2 separate regions of the Homo sapiens genome follow, and region 2 is linked to region 1. The links are contacts of gene promoters, found by promoter capture Hi-C in blood cells and fetal thymus (Javierre and others, 2016). All regions are on one chromosome and are shown on one strand. Each heading gives the region's core, a stretch centred on a gene start or on the middle of the fragment in contact. The rest is flanking DNA. Distances are from core to core; before and after follow the strand shown. Region 1 holds the start of PLEKHG1 (pleckstrin homology and RhoGEF domain containing G1). Region 2 overlaps PLEKHG1 (pleckstrin homology and RhoGEF domain containing G1).

Evidence for each region. Contacts are between HindIII fragments. The CHiCAGO score rates a contact against its expected background, and 5 or more counts as called.
Region 2: a contact is called between a fragment that was not itself captured here and the fragment with the promoter of PLEKHG1 in region 1, in 2 of 17 cell types (total B cells and naive B cells). The highest score is 6.1, in total B cells.

The regions. Positions count from the first base shown.
Region 1 is chr6:150,597,118-150,602,832 of GRCh38, forward strand. PLEKHG1 (pleckstrin homology and RhoGEF domain containing G1) reads left to right here and starts at 2,768. Exons shown (of 17, transcript NM_001029884.3): 1 at 2,768-2,900. RefSeq lists silencers at 2,256-2,315, 2,496-2,790, 2,586-3,065, 3,276-3,445. The HindIII fragment of the contact is 1,307 bases long and covers 2,349-3,655 here.
Region 2 is chr6:150,646,566-150,652,280 of GRCh38, forward strand. It overlaps PLEKHG1 (pleckstrin homology and RhoGEF domain containing G1), which reads left to right. Exons shown (of 17, transcript NM_001029884.3): 2 at 4,163-4,221. Among named protein-coding and RNA genes, the nearest start is that of PLEKHG1, 50 kb to the left of the region's middle. The HindIII fragment of the contact is 564 bases long and covers 2,156-2,719 here.

The DNA.
Region 1 (5,715 bases), core at 1,518-4,017:
ATGGGTGGGGGAACACTCCTTCAGGCTGTGTCTTCTGAATTCCTCTGTCTAGGAGTGGTAGTGACTTTCTGTTGCTGTTAATTTCTGGGCTGCCTCACTGTCTCTTTTTGGATTCTTGATTCTTCCATCACTTGTAGAGCCAATTTCCTGCATTAAAGTCCCTCTTTTATAAATACTTGAACTGGGTTCTGTTCCCTTTGTTTGACATTGACTGATAGAGCAGTATTAGAAAGACCACTCGCCAAAAGAATTTTCCCAATGCTGGATGCACCATTAGAAAGCCATTCCATTGGGTCCTTTTCCTTAAAGTGGAAGAGTAGACTCTTACTAACAGAATGCTACAGCATCTTCACAACTCTTATGTTGTCCGTTCATCCATCCAACAATCCACACACTGAATATCGTATACCTATTGTGTGTTAGGAGCTGAACTAAGTGCTGGACACACAAACCAGACCCACAATGTGTCAGGCCAGGTGATTTCAAGGAGCTCAAATTCTAAAGATCTAAAGGGCAGAGTTCATTTGCCTGGAAATCAGGAATGATCACAGGACTTAGGTGCTTAGTGCTATACTTGGCATACAGTCTCAACAAAAGAAATTTCTTGTTCCTGTTTCCACTTTCTACCTCCCACCTCATTAATAAACTGAGGTGAAGTGAGCGGGCTGGCCAGGAAATATTATAACCATCCCATAAGCACAGTACCAAATTCAGAAGAGCTATCTGCCTAAGGGTGAGTGCTCTTGAGCAGCAGCATCTGCAGCTGATCCAGTCTTTTCATCAGATCATAGTGCTTCATCCACAGCTTCATTCGAAGCACTTGTGCTAAGAAATGCATAACTGAGGCCAGGCATGGTGGCTCACTCCTGTAATCCCAGTGTTTTGGGAGGCAGAGGCTGGAGGATTGCCTGAGGCCAGAAGTTCGAGGCCAGCCTGGGTAACATAGCGTGACCCCGGTCTCTACAAAAAAAAAATGGTAAGTAAGCCCGGCATGGTGGTGCATACCTGTAGTTCCAGCAACCCAGGAGGCTGAGGCCAGAGGATTTCTTGAGCCCAGGAGTTCCAGGCTACAATGAGCTATGATTGGTGCCACCGCACTCCAGCCTGGGTAACAGAGCGAGATCCCGTCTCAATCAATCAATCAATAAAAGAGGAGACAGCAGAGAACAGGAATCCCCAATTCTCCTCCCTTCCTTTCCAAGTTGTCGGAAACCCTTATCTCTCAGCCACAGACACACTCATCAATGAGCTTCTTTGAATCCTAGATGCTTTGAGTGTCAAATAAAGGCTGGCACCTACCTCACAGGGTTGATGGAAACCATTAATGTGGTACTATTTCACAAACATACTGCACACTTCTAACACAAATCACAACATAGAGAGATGGGGTAACAGGCATGATTTTGTGTGAGCTCCAGAAGCTGGGCAGGGTCTTAATTAAGCTCAGTTTCCTGTCTGTGAAAGGCGACTAGCACCTGTCCTGTCAACCTCACAAGGTTATCGCAAGGCCAACTGAAACAATGCTTTGAAGATGGCAAATGTCTGTTTTAGTCCCATTGCAAATCTACCGTGGTAAATGTATTCCAAGCATAACCCAGTCCCATAGTTTTAGGTAATACAAGTCAGTTGTGGAGACTCAAATTATAAAACAGAACATAAACTCCACGTGGTAGAGAACTGTGATGCTGTGTAGCCTTACTGCACAAACCTTGTTTTGTTCCCAGTCTTTATGATAATTTCCATAATCATGTATATGCATAAAAGCAGATAAAAGGCAAAAATCAACAAGAATAGCTAACATTTATTCAGGCTGTAGAGCATGTGCCAGACAGTCTCCTAAGCCCTTCACGCACATTCTCTTATTTAAATCACATACAGCAACTCTATGAGGTAGGCACTATCATCATCATCATCATCATCATCTCCATTTTACAGATGAGGAAACAGACAGAACACAGAGAGGTTAAAGCGTTCTCTCAAGGCCACACAGCTAGCAAGTGGTAAGGCTGAAGGTCTGTTAACAACTAAGAGTGCAATCAAATCCACCACCAAACCTAAGGGGGTCCACAGGCGACCCTGATACGTCCGACTTTGGCGGGAGATTAGTGTTAAGAAATGACTTCACATGCCTTTAACTGTCGCTGCAGGCACCTTTGATTGGAGTCATAACTTTACTGCAGAGCCGGTGCCTTTAAACATCTCTCTGGCTGTCACCGGTTATTCTTTACCTCCGTTTCCACTTTTACTTTCTCTAGGCAAAGGTCGTTTGGTGCTTTAACCGAGGTGATTAGGGTAATGACGCCTGAAGAACACCGGGCTTCCCCCTCTTTTCACTTGATTACCGGCAAAGCTTCTATGTAAAACTAGAATGTTCACTAAAACCATGATTTTGGGTATTATTTTAAAGGACTCACATAGGAAATTATTACGTCCAAAGGAAAGCTAAACCTGAAGAGCTAGGAAAATGAAAAAAAGTGATGTGTCTGCGAAAACAGTAGCAGAATTAAAAAAAAAAAAAACTTTATTCCCCCCGAAGCTGTAATTTGACTGTTCTCTTTGGCAAGGCTCCAGAGACAAGGCCAAGTGCCTAATTTCTCTTTCTCTTCGCCCCCCTCCTCTCCACCTTTTTCACCCTCAGGGCAGAGGGGAGGCGGGACGAGCGATCCACTGCTCCGGCCGCCGAAGCTGGCGTCTGGGCGCGGGGAGGGGCGGGCCGGGGCGCGGCCGAGCAGTGGGGCCGAGCCCGAGGAAGAGGAAGTCGGAGCCCGAGCCTGAGCCCGAGCCCGAGCCCGACGGCGGCTGCAGGGCGCTCCGGCAGCCCGAGCCGGCGCAGCGCAGCCCGCACCCTCCCCGCCCGACCTGCGAGCGCCGCCCGGGCATGCGAAGCCGTCCCTCCCCGGGTAAGCGCCGGTCGGGCCCGGACGCCCTGGGGACTTTTCCAGGGATGGGAGGGGGGACCCGGGGACCTCCGGCGGGAGCCCCACATCCGCAGGTGGGGCCGGGCGGAGCGTGGTACCCGGGCCCCGCCGGCCCCCTGCGCGCCCCTCCGCAGTGGGGACGGAGGGCCTTGGGGGGCGCCGAGCGGTGGGGACAGAGGGCGCCGGGGGCACCGCGCGGTGGGGACGGAGGGCGCTGGGGGGCGCCGCGTCTCGGGGGTCGGAGTCGGGTCGGGGATGCTGCCCGCCGCCGCCCCGCTTGGGGTTCCGCGCCCCCAAGTTCCCGGTGCTCCCGCCCCTCGCCCCAGCGGCTGCAACATCAGCGCGCAGAGGAGTTTCTGCGAGCACCCGGGAGTTGTAGCCACCGCTTCCCCACCCCCGACTCAGCAGGACAGCCCCAGAACGGGACCCCACAGCCAGTCAGCTGGGTCAGCTCCCCAGCAGCGAAGCCGGGAGCCCGAGGACCCGGGGACGCGCGGTGGGGGCGGCGGCCGAGCTGCTGCGGCGCTCAGGGCTTGGGGGCGCCCCCGTTCTGCAGATGCGCTTTTCAGGGGGTGGGGAGTCAAGAGCCTGTGGCTCTTCCGTCACGGGGTAAACGGTAACACCTGGGCGGCCGCGACTCTGCGAGCGTTCTGGCCTCGGCGGGCGGCGGGGAACCGCAGTGATGCCCGAGCTCGCCCCTTTTGTGTCCTCGCGGTGAGCCCCGTTCCGAAGCCGGAAGCTTGGGAACGCTCTAACTGGGAGAACGGCGCTCGGCTGGTCAATTCATTCCGCTCCTCGGAAACAATGAGCTGGATCCTTGACTTGAATGTGCTGGCGGAGCGGGGTTTGTAAGCCGGCGTTTCATCCAGCTCTGGTCCTCAAGGCGCCCTTTGTACCACCCGCAGGTGGCCGAGGCTACTGCACGTATTTTCGAAATCACCGAGTGTGGGTGTTTGGGGCAGGTATCACCCCGCGAGGACCATCTCAGACTGAGAGTTGGTTTAGGAGTTTTGAACAGATTGGATACAGAACTATATTGTGTTTTGTATTTAGACCGGGGGAAAGACTAGAATGTTAACTCTAGGGTCCAGTTTGTCATCTAACAGAATTCCGGGCTTGGGTAGGTCCTGTAATGCGGTACAATAACAACCAGGTGTTAAAACCGGCATCTTCTGGATTCTCAGATTCTGTAGACAGCATACTTCTAAAAAATGTAGAGATTTTGGATTTTGATTAAATTGCTGTTAAAAACATTTCCAAGCCCATCATTTCAGGAGATCAGAAAATTTTCGAACTTTAATTTTGCCCTGTGGGACCCTGGGCAAGATACTTGCCTCTGGTCGTCTTGGCTGCCTCCCTTATAAAGCAGTGCACACGAACCAGATAGCTTCTACGGCCTCCTGCTCATTCCTCATCCCCCTCCCAAACCCCTACCCCCTGTAATTTGGTCTACAATATTTAAGACAGAGAGAAAAGTAACGGGTTGATGTTTGACTCTCTCAGCATTTTGAGTCTGGCTTCCCAATTCCTGACTTGACTTTTTGTCTCATTTGAGGTCCCAATTCTAAGCCACCAAACCACCTGACTAAAGAAACTTTTTTCTTCAGAGTGCTCCCACCTCCCTGGCTTCATCCTCAAATAGGTCATCAGTAGCAGTCCACAGTCAACAGCAATGGCTGCACGACCTTCCCCATCCTTGTGTAGCAGCCCCCCAAGTCCTCTGCTAAAGGGCAAAGCAAAGTGAGAAACAGTTACCTGGCAATCAGATGCCAGATAACTGCCCCGATTCTGCTCGTCCTTGGTGGCATTTTCCTGCTTCCCCTACTCTAAATGGGCACCCTGAATTAGGGGCACCAGCTTCCTTCAATGCCTTTAATATAGGTGACTGTCACCGAATACAGGCTTAAATATTTCAGTGGGGGATTCAGGCTGTAGTTCAAAGAAGTTAAATGATCATTTTTAAAACAATAGGAAGTGGCAACATAATTTTTCAAAACCAAGAATAACCAGTCCTATGTTGTGTTCCCCCTTTGCGGATATGATTTTTCAGTGATTTAATTAAGATCGAATGGTTCATAGTCTGTCCCATAAATATGGGAAATGCTTGAGTAGCACTAAATCTCTTGAGCCCTTCGTCAACCAAAAGCAATTCCTGAAGCTATTATCTTAATGGCGGCCGTTCACTTTTTTGCAGATTTCTTTTCCTCTCCACTCCTTTCATTGCTGGTGGTTGGTCTTTCAAGCAGTTGTCATCTTTTAATCCTCCTGCAGCATGATTAGGTCCCTGGAATATTAAACCCAGAAGGGCTCTTGGATGACCTAGTCCAGCCCTACATCTTAAAGATTTAGGAAGTCTGGTTAAGATCCAGTGATCTAGAATTAGCCTACTTGTGTGATGCTCACATCTACGTCTCTGTAGCTTTGAGACCTTCACTTCTTTAAGGAAATTACTTAGATATGGATTATTTCATAACCAGGAAAAGTAAAAATCATAGTTGGTGTCTCTCGGTTTTCTCACCTTTCCTCATTTTCACACCTTTCCTCCTTTCTTCTCCGCCCTTGTCTCAAGTTATGCCAAGGATTAAATGAAATGATTCGTATCAGTGTTTGGCACATATGGTGTGCTTTGAAGATGATTGTTGTTGATAAACCAAGTCCCAGGAGTGTATGATTTTGCAGAAGTTTATACATAGCTCTGGACTGTCAGAACTGTGATTTAACCAAGGTTCTCTTCTCTCTCCCCTGCCCCTCTTGAACTGCACTGCCTAAGAAATGTTGGTTGCATGGAGACATATTT
Region 2 (5,715 bases), core at 1,188-3,687, 49 kb after region 1:
CCATTGTTACTTGCTGATGTCTATGAATGAAATGAAACAGCTCAAAGAAGGGCAGGTAGAAGCAAGAAAGGGGTTTTTATGTTGCAGTGGATGTAGAGTCACAGGTTACCTAGCTGACATTCCCAGATTGGAATGGACAAATGTGATGTGGCTCTCCAAGATGACAGGTAGGGGCAGCAGCAAGAATCTATTCCAAATAGTGATTCTTTTGAGATTTACGTGATCAGATTTTATATCCCCTCAAAAATATTCCCTTTCTTTTCATGTACTTGACCATCTTCGTTACGGACTTAAATCATATTTTCTGGAAATTCATGGGAGGAACATTGGTAGATTTACCCTTTTGGCATTATTACAATTCGACACTGATCTGAAGTCCTGTCATTTCTGGTAGCCCCTTATATGGATTTCTCCCCTCACTTTGTTTCCTTGTTTCTTTTACAAAGTTCATGTGTTTTACTCAAGAAACAACATATTTTGTGCTTACGAACAAATTTATTGGGCTCCTATATATCAAATAATTGACATTTTAGGGAAAATTTTTATGCTTTGGGTCTTTGTGTAGTCAGTATCGTATATAGAAGTATTATCAGACATGACTTTAAATCATTCCTTGTTTAAGCCATGCCTAACTCAGACCATTAAAAGCCACTTTACCTAGTCACATAGAATAACAATGGCCTTTTATTTTGTCCTGCATATAAAAAGCAAGATTGGTCTCTTTCGTGGGTAATTGTTGTTAACATTCATTCTGGAATAATACAGTTGATCCACAGTTATTGTCAGGGACACATAGCTTTGAGTCTGTTGTCTAAAATTAAAGGTAAGCCTATTTTAGACACTGTAGTTAAAAGGACATGGTGATAGGTTGGTCTCCTTTTTACAAAATCAACCCTGACATTTTATTTATTTTTATGCTCAAATCACGAGTTGTGTTTTGCCTATGTAACTTATTTTAAACATCACCTTGCTTATAGTGTAGACTATAAGTTTAGCATTGTTCTTTGGCCAAAAGCAATAAAATATGACCTGTTTCACCGTGATTCAGTGAAGTGCAGTCAGCATTTTCTTTTCACAAATATAACACTGATGGCTATTTTTAACACTTCCCCAACCTTCAGAAGTGTAATGAAGTTTTGTTTTGACGTAAAATTCTAATTGGATTTTATGTCCTGAGTATAATATATTAGTGGATGTTGTACTTAAGGCCAGACAATCAAATATTCTTAATTTTTTAAAAAATCCTATTTTGAATTTATAGAACAGCCTCTGAGGTTCTCAAGTATTCACCTATAAATAAACATTGCTGATTGTAAAAGCCCTCTTGCTGTTCTCATATTCCTATAATAACTGAAATTATAAACTCATTGGTTTACCTCATATTGAATTTCCTGACTAGATGATGCTTTTTTCTTTTTTTAAAAAAGTACATTTGCATTTTTCATCATTTCTCATGAGGGAATCATTGTCTAAAGATTTCTTTAAATGTCTTCTATATAGATTCTTTAAGCATTATTTTTCTGAATATGATCTATTTTCAGACTGTCTTCATTTTAATTTGTTTGTGACTCATCATTTCTGCCACTGGATAAAAACCAGTGCTTTTTAAATAATTTGTTTTAAATGATCTTAACCTTTACTATTTCTAATAGGTTTTAAAAAGATATTTCTTTTATGGTATCTTTCTAGGTATTCAACCTCGTCACCTGCTGATGGGGATAATTTGGCTGTTTATTTTCTTTCACTGTTGCACAGTGAGACTTTCATTCCTGACTTTTAATAAAAATGTCTATTGATTTCAGGTCTTCTTAAAAATCATGGCAAACTATCCTATTTCTCCATACACTGAGAGATGACCATATGTAGGTGCTGAGTTTACCCCATGCCATTTTGTCATCTTTGAAGATAAGAATAAGTGTTGATCTTTTGTGACCTATTGATAGGGCATAATGGATCTATTTATATAATATTTATAGAATAAACCTTATTTATGGAGATGTGTTGTATACTAGAAATTGAGTTTTCTGAGCACTTTATTGAGGGTTCTTACATCTTATCTAAGTCAAACATGCCTCTTCCTTTTCTCTCTTTGTACCTTATCAGATTTGTGCTGGCTTTATCAAATTGGGGAGCCTCATTTTCCCTCTATCTTGAAAGCTTTTCATATAGTTTGGGAATTATCTAATCCTTGAGGTAAACTGTATGTATTAGTTGTTTAGCCTTTATATTTTTGGTTCAGTGTTGATAATTAAATATCACCTTATAAAACTGTTTCCAATGAAATGTTTGAATTTATTCACAAGGATATTTTTATATAGTATTCATGATTTTTTTCATCTTTTCTGTTTCTGTGATATAGTCCTCTAATAATTCTAGTTTTTGGTTGGATGTTAAGACCAAATTTGTCAGAAATCTGCCCATGAAGTATTTCATTCTGCAATGAACCACCTACTTGTTTTTAAATATTTAAATCACAGAATCCTGCTTTTTTTTTAATTTGTCTTGCCTATATCATATTTATTTCAGACTTAACTGAGCTTAAACATTTAATTTCTTTATTCTCTTCAATGAAAAAGTACTCGTGTTACAAATGAAACTGCATTGTTTTTACTCCTCCTATGCAGAATAAAATTAGCTAATTTTCATTATCCCCACTCATTTCCCCATTTTTGATCATATGAGCTAGGATTTCAGACCTAGGTGGAGCTAATTATAGTAAAGCTTTTTATTAAGTTTTTTTGTTTTTCAAAAATTTTGGAATCCGGCACTCTAGTTGGGCTATTTTTATAATAATAATAATTAGCACATTCTGTGCCTGCCTTTAATGTTCCCCACCAGTGCTATTGTGTATCTACCTTTTCACTCTGAAGTTTTTCTTTTGATTCATCCCTCAATCAACTGGAATATATTCGAGTAACTTTTCTTCATGAAGATACCCAGCTGAGAAATTTCTAGGCACTTTTTTTTAATTTTAAAACTCTGCAAATGTTGAAATGTCTGCGGTTCTTTCTTTTTAAAAACAGTGACCAGGCTGGACGCGGTGGCTTATGCCTGTAATCCCAGCACTTTGGGAGGCCGAGGCGGGCAGATCACCTAAGGTCAGGAGTTCGAGACCAGCCTGGCCAACATGGTGAAACCCTGTCGCTACTAAAAATACAAAAAATGGCCAGGCGCGGTGGCTCATGGCTGTAATCCCAGCACTTTGGGAGGCCGAGGCGGGCGGATCACAAGGTCAGGAGATCGAGACCATCCTGGCTAACACAGTGAAACCCTGTCTCTACTAAAAATACAAAAAAATTAGCCGGGCGTGGCGGCGTGTGCCTGTAGTCCCAGCTGCTGGGGAGGCTGAGGCAGCAGAATGGCGTGAGCCTGGGAGGCGGAGCTTGCAGTAAGCCGAGATGGCGCCACTGCACTCCAGCCTGGGCGACAGAGCGGGACTCCGTCTCAAAAAAATAAATAAATAAAAATAAAGACGAGAGCAAAACTTTGTCTCAAAAAAAAAAAAAAAGAAAGAAAAAAAAAACCAAAACAGTGACCAGAAAAACTGCAGCCCCAAATTTCACCAGATGTAAGCCTCACCCCAATGAGCTCGACCCCTCAACTCTCTTGCACTGATGGAAAGTGAGAAGAACTCAGAGAAGAGTGGCTGTGGCCTTAGGCAATTGTTGGAGGACTTGTGTTTTGGAGCTAGGGATGCTGCGGTGGAGAAGGATTGAAATCAGAGCCTCTCCTTCCATTCCCTGCTTCATGGCCTCGCGTTTTCTCTCTCCTTTGTTGGGGGAAATTCTTCCTGGTTTCTGGCAAGTCACTGAACTCCTCTGTTTACAGAGCTATTGTATGTTCAAGTCTCCTTTTGAATTATCTGAGTATTATTTCAAGGGAAAGGGAAAATCAAGGATGATAGGACTTCAGTAACTTTCTAATACCACATCCTGTGAATTTTTTCATTTTTTAATTAAATGTTTATGATTACTGCTATAGGCCTATTACAGTCCAGTAGCATGATATGGCCTTTTCCTGGGAATATCCTGGCCTTTTGGCATCTAGTCTTCCTTTTAAACAACTTAAAATTAGCCCTGATAGCTCATCCATGTTCCACTAAAAGAATTCTGAGAAAGCAATATTTAAGTAAAAAGCAATTTATTTTTTGTTTTTACTACAGGTGAAGACTGATGAGAAGAGTCTGTGGGTGAAGACATTGAAAAGGTTTCAACTATAAAAGTGAGCTCTTTTCATTTTTTTGCCCCTTGAGTATGAAACATATGTTAAAAGCTGAACGTATTCATAATTTCAGTTTGTTAGTATTTTTGTATAAGTGTACTCTGTAAGTCACATTTTTCGATTTTCAAGTATAGCAGTCCCCCTTATCTGTGGGGAATATGTTCCAAGCGCCCCGTGGATGCCTGAAACCATGGATAGTACTGACTCTATGTGAATTGTTTTTCCTATACATGCATATCTATAATAAGTTTTCATGTCTACATTAGGCACAGTAAAAGATTAGCAACAACGAATAATAAAATAGAACAATTATAACAACACACCGTCATAAAAGTTATGTGAATATAGTTTCTCTGTCTCTCAAAATACTGTAATATTTTCAGACCACAGTTGACTGCAGGTAACTGAAACTGCAGAAAGTGAAATCACCTATTAGAGGAGCTACTGTAGTCAGTTTTTTCTTTTTTTGAGACAGGGTCTCGCTTTGTCACCCAGGCTGGAGTGCAGTGGTGCGATCTGAGCTCACTGCAACCTCCTCCCGATTTGAAGTGATTCTCCTGCCTCAGCCTCCGGAGTAGTTGGGATAACAGGCACGCACCACCATGACTGGCTAATTTTTGTATTTTTAGTAGAGATGGGGTTTCACCACGTTGGCCAGGCTGGTCATGAACTCCTGACCTCAAGTGAGCCATCCACCTCGGCCACCTAAAGTACTGGGATTACAGGTGAGAGCCACCATGCCCAGCCCTGTAGTCTTTTTTAAAACAGAAAAAACTATTCTCAGTCTTTAGACCAGGTACAGTGGCTCACGCCCCTAATCCCAGCACTTTGGGAGGCCAAGGTGGGCAGATCACTTGCGATGAGGAGTTCGAGACCAGCCTGGCCGACACGGTGAAACTCCATCTCTACTAAAAATATAAAAATTAGCTGGGCATGGTGGCACGTGCCTGTAATCCCAACTACTCGGGAGGCTGAGGCAGGAGAATCACTTGAAGCAGGGCGGCAGACGTTGCAGTGAGCGGAGATTGTACCACTGCACTCCAGCCTAGGGGATAGAGTAAGACTCTCTCTCAAAAGAAAAAAAAAAGTCTTTAACTATTTTGTATAGAATAATGACAAATATTGTTACCAAAGGATAAAAATTAAAGAAAATGCGTACTGCAGATTAACATACATAAAGACTCAAAATGGAATCAAGTGTAATCGCACATGACCCATTTCAGAGTCATTTCTTCCCATTGGCTTTCTGGTTTTATTGAATTAGTCTTTAGGTAATATTTTAAATCCTTTTCATTGGCTAGAAAAGTTCTGTGGTATTTTTAACGTATTTTTCTTTAAGATTGAAAATCTCATTTTAACTTGGTGGTGTTGGTTCTTGAAAAACCACAATGACACTAAAAGGGAAAGAAGGAAGAGGAGATATGCCTTTCTGTTAGGTCCAGGCAATTATTTTACTCTGTTTCTTTCCTAAGTACTTTAACTCATCAGGCTCTG